2 separate regions of the Homo sapiens genome follow, and region 1 is linked to region 2. Evidence: promoter capture Hi-C in 16 types of primary human blood cells and fetal thymus (Javierre and others, 2016). All regions are on one chromosome and are shown on one strand. Each heading gives the region's core, a stretch centred on a gene start or on the middle of the fragment in contact. The rest is flanking DNA. Distances are from core to core; before and after follow the strand shown.

Region 1 (7,691 bases), core at 1,535-4,034, 570 kb before region 2:
CCTAAAGACTCAATTCTGTTATTCATATGGTCTGCGCAAGGAATAGAAGAAAAATCTGAAATTCAGAGCTAGAAGAGATTTTAAAAAAAAAGATACCCACAACCACTTCTTTAAAAAAAAACAACATTATTAGTCATTAGGAAAATGCAAATCAAAACCACACTGAGATACCACTGCATTCTCTAAAAGTGCTACAATGAAAAAGACAAATAATCACAAATGTAGGAGAGGATCCAGAGAAACTGGAACCTGCATACATTGCTAGTGGGAATGTAAAATGAAATGGCCACTTTGGAAAACAGTTTGGCAGTTCCTCAAAAACACAAAATACAGCATTATCATACAAACCACCAATTCCACCCCTAGGTATATGCCCAAGAGAACTGAAAACATACGTTCATACGAAAACTTATACGCAAACGTTCAGAGCGGCATTATTCATCATAGCCAAAAAGTAGAAGCAACCCAAATATCCATCAACTGATAAATGGATAAACAAACTCTGGTACATTCATACCACAGAGTATTATTCAGCCATAAAAAGAAATGAAGTGCTAATACATTCTACAACATGAATGAACCTTAAAAACATTATGCCAAGTGAAAGAAGCCAGACATCAAAGGTTTCATTTATGATTCTATTTACATGAAATGTCCAGAAGAGGCAAATCCATTGAGTCAGAAAGCAGATTAGTGCTTGCCAGGAGCTAGAGGGAGGTGAGAATGGGGAGTGACTACTAATAGGCATGAATATGGGTGATAAAATATTCTGGAATTAGATTATTGTACAACATAGTAAACATACACACACACAAAAACACATTGGGACATACAATTTTTAAAAGTTAATTTTATGGCATGTGAATTATATCTCAATTATGAAACAACAGCAACAACACAACAAAAAACCTGAAGCCCAGAGAAGCCAAGTTTCTTGTCCAAAGACATAAAGCTGATTAAATGGCAACGCCAGAACCAGATTCCAAGTCTCCCAACTTCCAATGCAGTATGCTAGCTCCATAATACACTGCTCTAGAAGTATTAGGACAATGGATCCTGAGCTTGGAAGCAATGTAGACTTGAACTAGTCATTTAACAGGTCATACCTTATCAGAAGAGGAAGATGAATTAAACGATCTCTTCAGTTCCTTCCAGTTTTAAAGCAGTCTGAGTCCTCTCAGATTGAGACCATTTCCTCTCTGATACTGTAGAGTGGTGGTTCTCAACCAGGGGCGATTTTGCCCCCTAGGGGACATTTGAGAATGTCTGGAGACATTTTTGGTAGTTGCAACCAGGAGGAAGGGTGCTACTAGCACCCAGTGGGTAGAAATAAGGCAAACTGCTTTATATCTACGATATATAAGACAAGCCCCAACAACAAAGAGTTGTCCAGCACAAAATGTCAATAATGCCACTGATGACAAACCCTGGTTTAGGGTATGATCAACTATTTTCAAGCTTTTCAAGGCAGTTCTACCCTAGAGTTAATAACCTCAGAGTAGCAGTTTTGAGATTACAGAGTGACTAGAGGCTGACACCATGCTAGCACCAAGCACATAGCAAATAGACAGGTACTTTTTAACCCCACAGTAGTCAACCTCTCCAAAGAATCAAATATTCAAATGCCAACAGAAGTCAGACAGTTAATAATGTGAAATAATGAAGCCAGCAAACAACTAATAACCATTTAAAACTATTATTTCCTTCCTTTAACACACACACACAAACTTGCTGGCTCCCATTCTTCTTGAAACATATATATAGCCTTCTCGATATAATCTTATGGTTTCCCACTTTTGATAGACATAGATGCCAAGAAATACTTTCTATTATAAGATAAAAGAATATACAAGCTCAGTAACAAATGGCTCAGAGTTGGGAAAATGGTGAGAATGATGAGGGGCTGTGTAGACACCAAGGATACAGGCCCTAAGGCAAGGGGGCATCACTACTCAGTTCCAGTGGATCCATGCCAAGATGCCATGATACCACAATGGAGTGAGGTGCCAGGATCAAGTAATCTTCAGATGTCTTAAGAAGAATGGGAAATCCAGGTTATGTTTGTGTCTAAGAAAGGTAACTCCCAGTATTTAAAATATTTGCTCAAAAGAATTTAAAATGGTATATTAACTCGAAAGAGGGTGTTTCAGACTTGCAACCAGATTGTGACTTCCAGCCTACACTAACCTTAATAAACAATGACAGTTTGGGGTATTCCTAAGGCTATGTTCCATTTAACTCAGGACCTATTTTTTTTTTTTTTTTGAGACGGACTCTCACTCTGTCTGGAGTGCAGTGGTGCAATCTCAGCTCACTGCAACCTACTCCATCTCCTGGGTTCAAGCAATTCTCCTACCTCAGCCTCCTGAGTAGCTGGGATTACAGGCGACTGCCAGCACACCCAGCTAATTTTTGCATTTTTAGTAGAGACAGGGTTTCACCACTTTGGCCAGGCTGGTCTCCAACTCCTGACCTCTGGTGATCCGCCCATCTCGGCCTCCCAAAGTGCTGGGATTACAGGGGTGAGCCACCGCGCCCGGCCAACTCAGGACCTATTATCTGATTATTTGAACATTATTTTTTCCTTAATTAAATCTTTATAGCTCATTTAAAGTTGAAAAAAATCAGAAAATTATTGCCAACTTCAATTTAAATGACACTCAATAATAATAATGGCTGCAATTTCATTAAGCTTCAACAACTTTACAAGTAGATTTTCTGAGATCCAGAGAAGTAAAAAGGCATGTTCAGCCACCTTGCCCATTAGAGTATCAGATCCATAATTCAAATCCAGGTCTTCCTGCCCCTGGAGTCTACATTCTTTCTACTCATCACTGCCCTTGTATCACACAAATTTCTTCTATCTACCAAGCTTATGAGGCTCTCTCAATAATTTACATATAAATAATCTAATATTAGAGAGATGGTTGACAATAAACAAAGCACAATGATCTTGGAGCAATTAAACTGGACAGATGAAGAGTGTAAACAGCAGCTTCATTGACCACTCCTGCAGGCCTCCTCCCTACCAGTGTGTGTTGACTGAATCTTTCCCTTTACAGATGGAGGCTGTCTACACTCCCCCAGACCCTCAATTCCCTCCCTTCCACCAACAAACCCAACTCTGGCCTCCTCCTTTCTACTCCCTCTCTTGCATTCAACTCCCTCAGTAGGCTGCAATATATTGATAAACTCCTTCCACTCACAAGAACACCTTTGTGCAGAGCATACAACAGGGCATAATCAGCATAGAGAACATTTCTCCTAGTAACCTAGGGTTCAAGATGTAAAGGATGAGGGCGCACACCTCCACAGCAACCATTTGTCCCCATGGATCTGTTGCCCAAAAGGCCCCAATATATTAAATATCTCTGCCTATGACCCCATCTCTGGGTTACAGCCATCCTGGCCAACCTTTCTTTCCCCGTATTACCTATTGCCCTCCCATCGAATCTTACTCCTTCCAGTTCAACCCATCAAGTTGGTTTTATTCAACTTTATCACACACAGCAAGAGAATCACATTCGAAGGAAATCATACATTTAGTTTCAGGACATCCAACAAAACATTAAACAGTCTCTTCGGAGCACTGCCTATTCTCATTTCCTTTAACTTCTGAAGTCTTCCTCTGGGACATATCTATAGGAGGAAGACGGTACAGATCTGGCTATCTCAACCTTTTGGGTTCTATGACAAGGCAAGTTGTTTAAAGTTTGGGTTTCTTACTCTTCTGTGAGGGGGCAGGGTAATTATGAATAGCTACTATACCAAGTTACTTTAAGGAGTACAAATAACAAATGCAAGCCCCCTAGTACTGCCTGCACATGTGAATGGTACTCATTATTATTATCACGAAATATTAGTTTTCAATTTTAAATCATACTCCTTTTAGCTTCCATCAGTCTCTGAAGAAGCAAAGCCATTGCTATCACATGATCTAAGGACATCATGCCTACAATTATCAGCTCAGCAGCTGAGTGGAGACCTCTGGAACCACTCCTCAGGAGTCCTGCACAATTCCCTCTCTTTATTACAGCTTGAGCTCAGACACTGTTATTCTAGCATGCTTGTTGCGATAGCACAACCCAGGTTCTCACCAGTCTCTTGGTCAGGGGCTCTTCTGGTGAGCAATGTGGGGCAATATAAAAAGTACCAGGCACAAAATCAGAAGAAAAGGGTTTGAATCTAGGTTTTACCGCTGAGCTGAATAATCCTAGACATGCTACTTAATTACCCTGTGTCTCAACACTCTCATCTGTAAAATGAGTATAAGAAATCATAGTTTGTAGGACAATTGTAAAGATGAAATGACATAAAGTAAATATTGTACCACATTGCTGGACACAGATAAAGAGTAATTGTTCAGCTGCCCTTTCAGTGTTCCAAAGCTCAGCACAATGGGTCCCCTCTTCCAGGTGTCTTTTTCCTTCTCCTGTCTCCCACATTTTTCCACAAAGCCCCTTACTGCTTTTACCATCATCTACCTGCCCATCTGCCAGCCCAACTTATGTTTCACAGGTATTCAAAATTCACAGTGTTCAGATTCACAGTCAGGATTCTAGGAAATTCCATTCATCTTCATTAAACACAGAAATCCTGGCCCTTCACTGTCCCCAACCCCCACCAAATTTGGGGTGACAGACAAGGCATGATGTTTGCAGAGGATATCCATCAATTCAACTTGGTGTTTCATATTCCTTTTCCCGGTTACTCACAGACTCAACATATTCTGTATCAGTTACAAGAATCTGAAAGACAGAGTCTAAATACATGAAGTTTAAGGCAGGGATGGCAAATACGTGGCATAAGTCCTGATCCTCTCTCTGGTACCAGAGCAGGCATCAACAATCAATCACACTGTTTTCCTGCTGATCCCAATCAAGGCTCCAAAACCCCTCTCCCGGCTCTCCAGGCAGCTACTATCCAACAGTCAGAGTTGTCATTTGGGATGAAATCTATACATTATTCAGCAATCCTTAGATCAAGCCAGGGCTCTAAAAAAAACATACACAGTATATTTGGTGTCCCTTAGATGCCAAAATCCTTGGATGCTCAAGTCCCTTATATCAAGTCGTATAGTATTTGCATATAACCTATGTAAAACATGGTATAATTTAAATCATCTGTAGATTATTTATAATATCTAATACAACGTAAATGCTATGTAAATAGCTGTAATACTATATTATTTAGGGAATGAAGACTAGAAAAAGTCTGTACATGTTCAGTACAGATGCAACTGTCCACTTTTTTTCTGATTATTTTTGATCCACAGGTAGGTGAATCCACAAATATGGAACCCACAGATACCAAGGGCTGACTGTATTATGTATAGCAAAGAATAGTGACTATGTGCATAGTAGTAAGCACTTTATAGGGAGTGAAAATATGATCTGAATGGGTCGTGCACAACATGCCATGTACCTATAAAATATCCAAACATTACAGCAGAACTCTAACTAATGGTATGTTTGGTGAATGGCCTGCTCAAATTATAATGTTCTTATACATTTAAGTGGAAAACCCTTTACACTTAAATTTACTAAAATCTCTCCTAAAATTATACCTGTATGCGTTCTCAGCCTAGTAAGTAGTATGTACTGTATATAATTTTTGGACTGTTAAGGAACTTACACAGTTCAAGGTCATTGTGATTTTTTTTTACTGTTATTACTACTACTACTACTGAAGATGATTATGATACAGAAAAAGTAGGTAACATGCACTGAGTTCTCAGTATGTCATGGCACTCAGCTAAATGCCTAATGCAAAATCATTCATTTCATTCAAAGCTCATAAGAGCTTTTCTATGCATAAAATACCATTCCTATCCCACTTACACAAATGAAGAGGCTAAGGTTACTTGTCTAAGGTCATGCCTTTCATCAGTGGCAGAGCTAGGATTTGGACTCAGCCCCCGCCTTAACCATAACACTGTTCTCTAATGATAGATTGCCATAGCCAGGACAGAGAGGTAGGTGCATGGGTTGAATATAAACTGACTCCAGAATTAAAGAAATCAGCGCATACTCAACCCAAACATTTATTTTGGCTAGTAAGCAGTTTGTTTCTCATAAAAGAACAGTGAAATCTAAACTCCCATCAATGAAGGGCCCAGGCTTATAAAGGTGGCCAATTCCCATTTGAAGAAACCACGCTAATGAACATAATTATTAAAAGAGAACCAGTGAAAGATAAGCAGAGACTGTGATTTAAAACAAACCACACACACACACACACACACACACACACACACACACACACACACAAAAGGGTGAGAGAACCACTGAGCTTTAATACACATGGGAATGTCATGAATGAAGAAGACCACACTCCCACGTCTTGTGGAACATGCAGAAGGAAAACAAGCTAACTCAAAAGCTATGCTTATTGCTCTTTGGGTTTTTTGTTTTGCTTTGTTTTGTTTTTAATATTAGATCAGTATGTAGCAATAGCTGCTGACTTTAACTATATTTGCATTTACCAAATACCACTGAACTGACCTGTCAATCAAGTCACCTAATTGTATGTCTCTTACTCTCAGTCCTCCACTCTCAAAGCCACTAGACTGAAGATGACAAAAAGTCATTTCATATTTGGGCCATGACCCAGTAGGAAATGGCAAACACATCCTAAATTAGTTAGAACCCCCTGCCCTCAGTCGCACCCAACGTTCCCTGTCTGCTCCAAGAGCTGAGAAGCAATGCTGGCAGAGGGCCCACCAAGACCCCACAGCAAAGCAGACACACCCTGCCGGATACCTTCCACTTCAGGGGTCAGCTCCAGGAAACAACCCCTTGGAGTTCTGCCAAATACTCAACCAGCTCAAAAGAGTAGATCCCCTTGGGAATAAGCTGTCAATAGTAACAAAGGTGACCAACAAAATTGTTCCCAAATTGTCCCAGAGGCTGTGCCAGCCTAAAAGTGCCTAAGTTTGTAGGGAGGTGGGGCCCCATCTGCCTGGATGCTGGCATCTGAGTTCAGCTTTCCATTCCACTGCAAAGCTGTCATGAACCAGAAGGGAAACATTCAATTAAGTGCTTTTCCAAGCTTTATTTCTGTTTTAGAGTTAGAAAATAAACCAATCAAATATAAAAGAGATAGCAATACTAACCCTTTAAATTACCACAGTCCACTGTGAAACTAGCCAGTGCTGACAGATGAAGTCAGATAAGCCTATTAAGAGAGGGAGACAGAAGGGAAACTGCACTGCCTTAAATTGGGTTGTGCAGTTTCTAGCTGGTACAGGCTTCCAACCTCCAGCTCCTCCCCTCCTGCCCTACTCCTCCAAGCCACCCCAGTGCCCCCCAAAAACTAACACATGGCACATATTCATCACTATCTAAAAATGCTAAACAGAAAGGCTCATTGATATGTTCTTAAGCTAAAACTAGAAGGAGGACCCTCAAAAGACAACTGTATATAACCTGAAGTAGAAGAGTCCCCACAAAAGTTAACAAGCACTTGCCATTTCACAGAAGAAAGAAAATGTTCACTAAATTTTTAAGGCTAACCTCTTTTTTTGCATCACGGATAAACAGTATAAAATAAAATCAATCACAGAAAAAAATGAATACAGGAATGTGGCTTAAATAGAACTTAAATCTCTAACTAACTCTCCAGCTAAAATAATACCCATTTAAAGGAATTCCTGCTGAAAAACTCCTGAAGCCTAAAAGGGTCTCCTGAGT
Region 2 (6,890 bases), core at 2,565-5,064:
TTCCTCAGTGAGATATAAGGGAGAACTGTTAATGTTAAATAACAAAAACATTGTTAAATAATGGAATGGCTCACTTAAGTTGGTTATCTCTATTCTTTTTGGAGCAGCCAAATAGTATATCTGTTCATGTGCTTCAAATCTGATAAATATTCATGCTCTATGAAGAAGGATATGTGTGTGTGTGTGTGTGTGTGTGTAAGAGAGAGAGAAAGTCAGATAAGCATGGACAGAAACACACAATATTGGGGAGCAAGCCACAGTGAGGAGTGTGGCTTGTTAAATAAGATCCTTGACAGTTGTATTGTGTTCTTGGGGCAGATGAGTAGTTTTTTTTAAAGTACTTTTGAGAGAACAGTGTTTTCTACTTTTACATTTCTGTATTTCACAGGATAAAGCTTCTGCTATAGAAGAAATGTAACATCAAAACAAAAGCAAGATTTAACATGAAATTTTAAAAGTTGTACTTATAGAGATTTTTTGAGTTACGTATTATTCACCATACTACTGGAGATTAAATTTCATAAATGTATAATTTTTGTACTTATAAATACCATCCCATCTTGTTCCTGAAACAACTGAAATGATAGTATTTGATTATTTTATTGGAATAATAGCTTACAAGATCAAGACAAAATTTTTGTTAAATATTTATTTTGTTTCATGTGTTGCCACGTGAAAAGTGATGAATTTCACATAAACTTTTATATTTCAAGAAAAGTTTCTATATCTCCTAGAGAGACTATATTATGTAAAAACGTTAGGTCTTGGCTTTCCAAACTTTTACTATTATTTGTTAACCTTGTTATTTAAACTGCATGGAGATCTTTTTAAAGTGATATTTTATTTTTGGAAACCCATAAAAATGTTAAAATAAACAAACAGGAAAGGATATAGATGGAATCTGAACTATCCTTATATGCAAAAGAGTTGGCTGAACAAAAAATTGCAAGGATCATTGCTTTGGGAACTAAAATCTAGAACTTCCAAATAAGACTTTTCTTTCTATTTGATATTTACAGACTTTGTACATAAACAAGTACAATAAACAACTTAATAAATCTTACAGTTAACTGTCAATGCTATAATTCACAAATGTTTTTTATGTTTAAGAAAATTAAAAGGGCTATTTGGAGTATTTGTTACATTTAAAGGACTTAGTAAAATTCAATTCAATATCCACTGTTAAATACAAATAGTTTATTTGGCTGAAGGGAAGTTTTAATTTTTAGCAGGTAATGTATATTTTCTTATAACAGACAATAGTTCAAAGGGAAGGTTACAACAATCTGCATATTGGACATTTGAAAAAGAAATATAAACACTGTCAAAAATCAATCAAAATGACAGGAACATCATGTTTAGAAAACTTAGAGGGGGATTTTCCAAAAAATTTTTAAGGAGCTAAGTACTAGTAGCATATTTAGGTGAAAGCTTTTGTGGCTTCTAAATGAAAAGAATATATGAGATAATCATGCTAGTTTTCTATGTTTACAAAACACACAGAAGATATATATCACAAACTTTACCCAGAGTAATATTATATTCCATGTCATAATTTGGTTTATTTTCAATCACAAGAATAAAACATCTATTAGTAAGAATCATACATTCCAAGCCTTCAAAACCAGAAAATCCCACTATAATTTTTAGTTTCTAAACTCTGTTTATTTGAAGAACTTCAAGATCGTGTAAAATATTACAATTATTTGAAGAACACTTTTTTAAAAGTTAAGCTAAAACAGCATCGGTCTTAGAAGTAAATACAATTTGCAAAAAGGCATACAAAATTTCCTATCTTTTCAGTCTATCTTTTCAAGCCTAACCACCTAGAAATAGGCTACTTTACCTATAATTGAATAGAATAAAGTGTCTTTAAAGATGCAAATATGTTCAGTATTTGAGAATAGCTATCTTAAAAAAAATAAGTTATTCTGATAACCAGGTTGCAATAGGACAAGTCATGGTAACCTTCCATTTTTAAGATTCAGTTACAAAAGGCAATTTTATATCCTATTATTCCAAAGGGTTTGAGGCTTTATTTCTTCTTCCTCATATGTATGATGATTTCTGGATGTTTTAGTATAGGGCATCACACTGGTGCAGCACACTTGGGCTTACAGTGCAGCCCAAGGCATTTGCAGCAAGTATTTCCCACTAGGAATGTAAGGAGCTAGGAGGTTACAAGGCTTGAGGAAACAATCTAGAAAACCACAATACAGCTTGTTGGTCCTTTCCCCACAAATAACCTTTTTAAACCAGACCCATAAAATGCAGTTTATTATCTAACATTTTTAAGGAGAATCTTTTGTTAAATGTTAACAAAAGAACGACTATCCAAATTCCCTTTAAAATGCAATCCTTAAAAAATATTGAACTCTCAAGTCTTTTTGGAAAGTGCTTAAATCATCTGGAGATAAATATCATTTGGTGTCCTTGTTTTCTAACAAATGGCTTTTTCTATTGTTTCCATTAATTTCACCCATATTCGTTTTTTTAAAAACAAGGCCCTTATCCTCATCAGCAAAACACAGATGTATGATTTAGCATATAAAATCGGTAATTACATACTAATTTACGAAAGATTTTTTTTTCTCCTTTTCGTCAGTTTTCAAGAAGTCTTCCCGTGATTAACTGTAAACAGGAATGGTTTACATCTCAAATTAGAAGCCATTAATTAGCATGACGAAGTCAACTGCAAGATACACAGATTATTTAAATTATTTAATCACTATTCACCTTGGCTAAACTGTAGTATACTCTTTCAATATCCTTAGGCAGGTTATCGATCTGTCACTAAATTACCTCCAGATCAGTTAGACATGAATATTAGCGTCCTTTCCTTTCCCTCAGGTTTACATTCTCCCTTCTCGTAAACACTTAAAAAAGCTTTAAGGTTCTTTAATTCCAAATACCTAATTAGCCATCACTAGCCTTTTTGTAATAAGGAAAAAGAGTATCTGAAGTACAAATCAAGAGTTCGCTTTGCCCGTTTAACAATAAAAAACATTTAAAAAACGTACGCCAAAGGCAATGGCAGTAATAAAAGAAATATGCAGAGGTGGCTTCAGCAAATAACGGGTTTGCAAAACGCAAGTGCTTAACAAAAAGCAGCCCAAACCTCTATTGCAATATACAGCACTCCAATAAATTACACAACACTTGCATAGGCTGCAGAAATAACGCAGGACAAGACTTACACAGATGCCAATCCGCAGCATTTATACACATGCACATGGCAAGAGACAGAAACCAAACACTATCATTCAACTCGGGAAGGGTAGCGCGATCCCGAGCTTGCCCAGCGTGAGAGTGCTCTCTGCGTGTGTGTCTGTGTACGCGCGTGAGTGAGACCCATCCTTGGGGCATTTCCCCTCTCTGGGCAGTTTTGCTTCATTTGTTTCATATTTCTGCTACATAGAAACTAACTTCCATCTCAGCTCCAGCCAGCGCCGCTGAATAGAGCCTGTGCTGCGGCTCCGTGTGCGTCAGATCCCTCCGCGGAACCGTCCCCGGCCCCCTCCCTGCCACTATCGGCCTCCACAGAGAAAGCGCCTTCCAGCCAACCGGCGGCTTGGGCTCCGACATCTTCTCCGACTGGAAATAAATAAATAAATCGCACGCCCTGCGGGGAGGAGCGGGTGGGGGTCTCACTGTGCCGCGTGCGGAGCGCTGGGGACGAGGGGTCGGAGGCACTCCTTTTTTAGCGCCGGGGGGCGGGGGCGCGGGCCAGAGCCGGGGCCGAGCCCTGGGCCGCGAAGGCGGCGGACTCCTTTCTGCGGCGGAGGGATCCGCGGCGGAGGCGGCCACGGCCGTAGTCGCTGCCTGAGAGTTGTTGTTTCCTCCTCCTCCTCCTCCGCCTCCGCCGCCGTTGCTTGAATGGTGGAGCCGAAGCTCGGCTCGTGAACACACACTGACAGCTATAGGGCAGGCGGCGGCACCGTCCCCGCTTCCCCTCGGCGGCGGGGTGTCCCGTCGGCGGCCCTGAAGTGACCCATAAACATGTCTTGTGAGAGGAAAGGCCTCTCGGAGCTGCGATCGGGTAAGTCGGGGGGCTGCCGGGGCCGCTGGCACCGGGCGATTCCGCCCGCGGTCCCCCGCCCCCCGCCGCCCGACCGCTCAGCCTGTGTGTCTCCCCGTCCCTCTCTCCCGCGCAGAGCTCTACTTCCTCATCGCCCGGTTCCTGGAAGATGGACCCTGTCAGCAGGCGGCTCAGGTACGGCGGCGCGCGGCGCGGGCCGGGCCGGCGCTCGCCGCTCGCGGGCGTGGGGGAGGGAGGCGGCGGCGGCGGGGCCGCGGCCCGGGGCGCGGGGCTCAGCTCTCCCCGCTTTGTTGTTGCAGGTGCTGATCCGCGAGGTGGCCGAGAAGGAGGTAAGGGCGGCGGCGGCCCGGCGCGTCCCGCCGCCGCGCGGCCGCCTCTGGGCCGCTGCGCCGCCGCTGCCGCCGCCGGCAGGGCGCGGGGCGCGGGGCTCGGGGTCCCCGCCGGGGCGCGGGGCGGGCGGGGGAGGGGAGCGGGCGGGTAGGGGCCGGGGGCCGGGCTCACGGGGTGTCCTCTCCCCGCAGCTGCTGCCCCGGCGCACCGACTGGACCGGGAAGGAGCATCCCAGGACCTACCAGAATCTGGTGAGACATTCACGTCGCAGAGCAAAGAAACTTTTCCCTGAGTCGAATAAAAATTGAATTTCCCGCAATTTTTTACAGAGACAAAAACTTGGCCCTAGAACGTGAAAGCTCCAAAGGCCATGGGGAGGGTTGGGAGGCCGGCGCGGGGTCTGCGGGGGCCAGTGGCCGGGGGTACTCGTACTTCGGGGCCGCAGGGGCTGCGGACAATTTATTTGTGATATTTTGTTAATGTGCTAGAAATAAAGATACGTCATGAGTGTTGTGCAGTGCAAGGCCGGAGGAGGAGGGGCCGGCGCGCGCGTCCGTGCGGGCGCGGGGGCGCGCGAGAGTCGGCGGCGGCGGGAGCGGCGCGAAGAGGGAGAGCGCGCTCGCTCGTTCGCTTGCTCGCTCTGCACGCGCGGCCGGCTCGGCTTTCTCCTGCCCTACACAATAGCTGGTGACTAACTGCTCCGAAGTGGCATTAGCATTTCACAAGCAGGCTATCCAGCCGCTGCGGTACCGTGGCAAGACATTATTTTTTCCCCCTCTGTCGTTTATTTTGTTTTCCTTAAATTCAGTCCTGGGTTTTTTGTTGGAAGGATTCTGATGTGTGATGATAGTTGGTCAGTGCTTCGTCTTGCATTTACTAAAACACATCTTTGCAGAAGTGTAAAGCCTGTAATTCCCTAAAACCAGAAGTTTAGTAGGCTTTTTTTAATTCTTATGGTATGCCTCTCGTTTAATTAAAAATTATTATTGGAGTACACTGAAGAGTTTTGATTTTTGTCCACATATTTACTGTGGGATGGAACTTGGCCTATGAAAGTTGTGTTTATATTGGGACATATTTTGTTTAATAGCTTAAAAACCTTAATTTTGTGGGTTGTCAAAATGAGTATTTTAGGAATCTTTAAAAATTGCTTTTCAGAAGTGGATTTATCACTTCAGTATTGTGATTGGAAGTTACTTTAAAGGAGCTATATTTTCTGTAACACTTTCTCCTAAACTGATACAGGTTCGTTGTGTGAATATGTGTGTGGGGCAGTTAAAGCAGTCGCACCGGACCCACCAAGCCTTTGAAATTTATGTAGTGTGTTGATTTTATGAGGCTTTTGTAACTGTTTTGAGATAGTTATGATTACTAATGTTACTTCATCAGAACTTCTCTAATGACTAGGAAGTTTCAGCGAGCTTAGAATGAGTGTCTTTTGTGAGGTGAAAGCAGGACATGATTATAATGGCGCTTTTTTTGGTATGTAGTGTATTTCCTAACTTTTGTGTATAAATCTCTTGTGGTTTAATATAAGATGTTGATAACCGCTCAAGGCTGTTGAAATAAGCAAGGGTACTGAGGTTTAATACATCTAATGGAGATTTAACAGTGTATTAGTGTATTCATTTTCACACTGAACGTGTGTTAATTTTCAAGGAGTGATTTGGGTTACTTTCATTCAATTCTTGGCCAAAGTGAATGGAGCTGGAAGTAAACTCCAAGATTTACTAATTTGAAATTAATTTTTAGGTTTACAAATACTTGATAGAAGTCTTCAGTGAATTTACATGTCTTCCTTGATATTTGAAAAAATTATCGCAAAGATTATAATACTCCATTTTTAAGATGGGGCAGGTTTTACAAAACTCGTCTTTGCATCTGCTTTTACATCTGTGCATCTCTTAAAAACCCACAAACCTTAAGTCACTGAGGAATGCTGCATTTTCTTAATCTTTTGGTAATGTTACATTTTTTAAATGAAGCAGCTTAATGTTATCTGGCTAAATTATGGTAATGGCTAATCCTCGTAGGAATATCATTTTGTTTTTTTGTTTTTTTTTTCAGTAAAAATGAGCTATCAATTTTGATTTTGAGTTAATTTAATTTTTGGGGGGAGGGTGGGGGGAGGAATTATTAGTAAAGTGAATTTCTATCCCTAGTCTGCATCGCAGATTTAAGATACAGTAAGCATTCTTTCTATCTATGTATTATGCTCAAAATTCACCTATTTTGAATGGAAGTGGTTTTTCTTGCTTGGAGTTTTCTCCTTACTAGAACAGGAACGTTGGCATACTCATCAGACAGTTTAGAAATCTTATTAGAACTTGGAGTTCTTTGACTCGTTTTCTCTTTTCATTCATTCAGCATATTGCTTACTCTATATCTACTGGATGCAAGGTACCATTTGAGGTGCTTTCTCATCCATCAAACTGTATATCTAGGTGTGTGAGTTAACTTTATTTTACCTTTTTAGTTGAGATTTAGTTAGGTCTAAAAACATTTGGAACACTGGATTTTT

What was found. Contacts are between HindIII fragments. The CHiCAGO score rates a contact against its expected background, and 5 or more counts as called.
Region 1: a contact is called between a fragment that was not itself captured here and the fragment with the promoter of PHIP in region 2, in 1 of 17 cell types (naive CD8 T cells). The highest score is 5.0, in naive CD8 T cells.

Annotation. Positions count from the first base shown.
Region 1 is chr6:79,639,729-79,647,419 of GRCh38, reverse strand. The region is part of intron 1 of SH3BGRL2 (SH3 domain binding glutamate rich protein like 2); the gene reads right to left. Among named protein-coding and RNA genes, the nearest start is that of SH3BGRL2, 12 kb to the right of the region's middle. The HindIII fragment of the contact is 180 bases long and covers 2,695-2,874 here.
Region 2 is chr6:79,075,178-79,082,067 of GRCh38, reverse strand. It overlaps PHIP (PHIP subunit of CUL4-Ring ligase complex), which reads left to right and starts at 3,814. Exons shown (of 40, transcript NM_017934.7): 1 at 3,814-4,039; 2 at 4,155-4,213; 3 at 4,339-4,368; 4 at 4,561-4,620. The coding sequence starts at 4,000. It overlaps LOC124901346 (a long non-coding RNA gene), which reads right to left. Exons shown (of 2, transcript XR_007059652.1): 2 at 4,802-6,890. RefSeq lists an enhancer at 3,387-3,436 and silencers at 3,557-3,796, 3,927-4,096, 4,596-5,095. The HindIII fragment of the contact is 4,735 bases long and covers 2,889-6,890 here.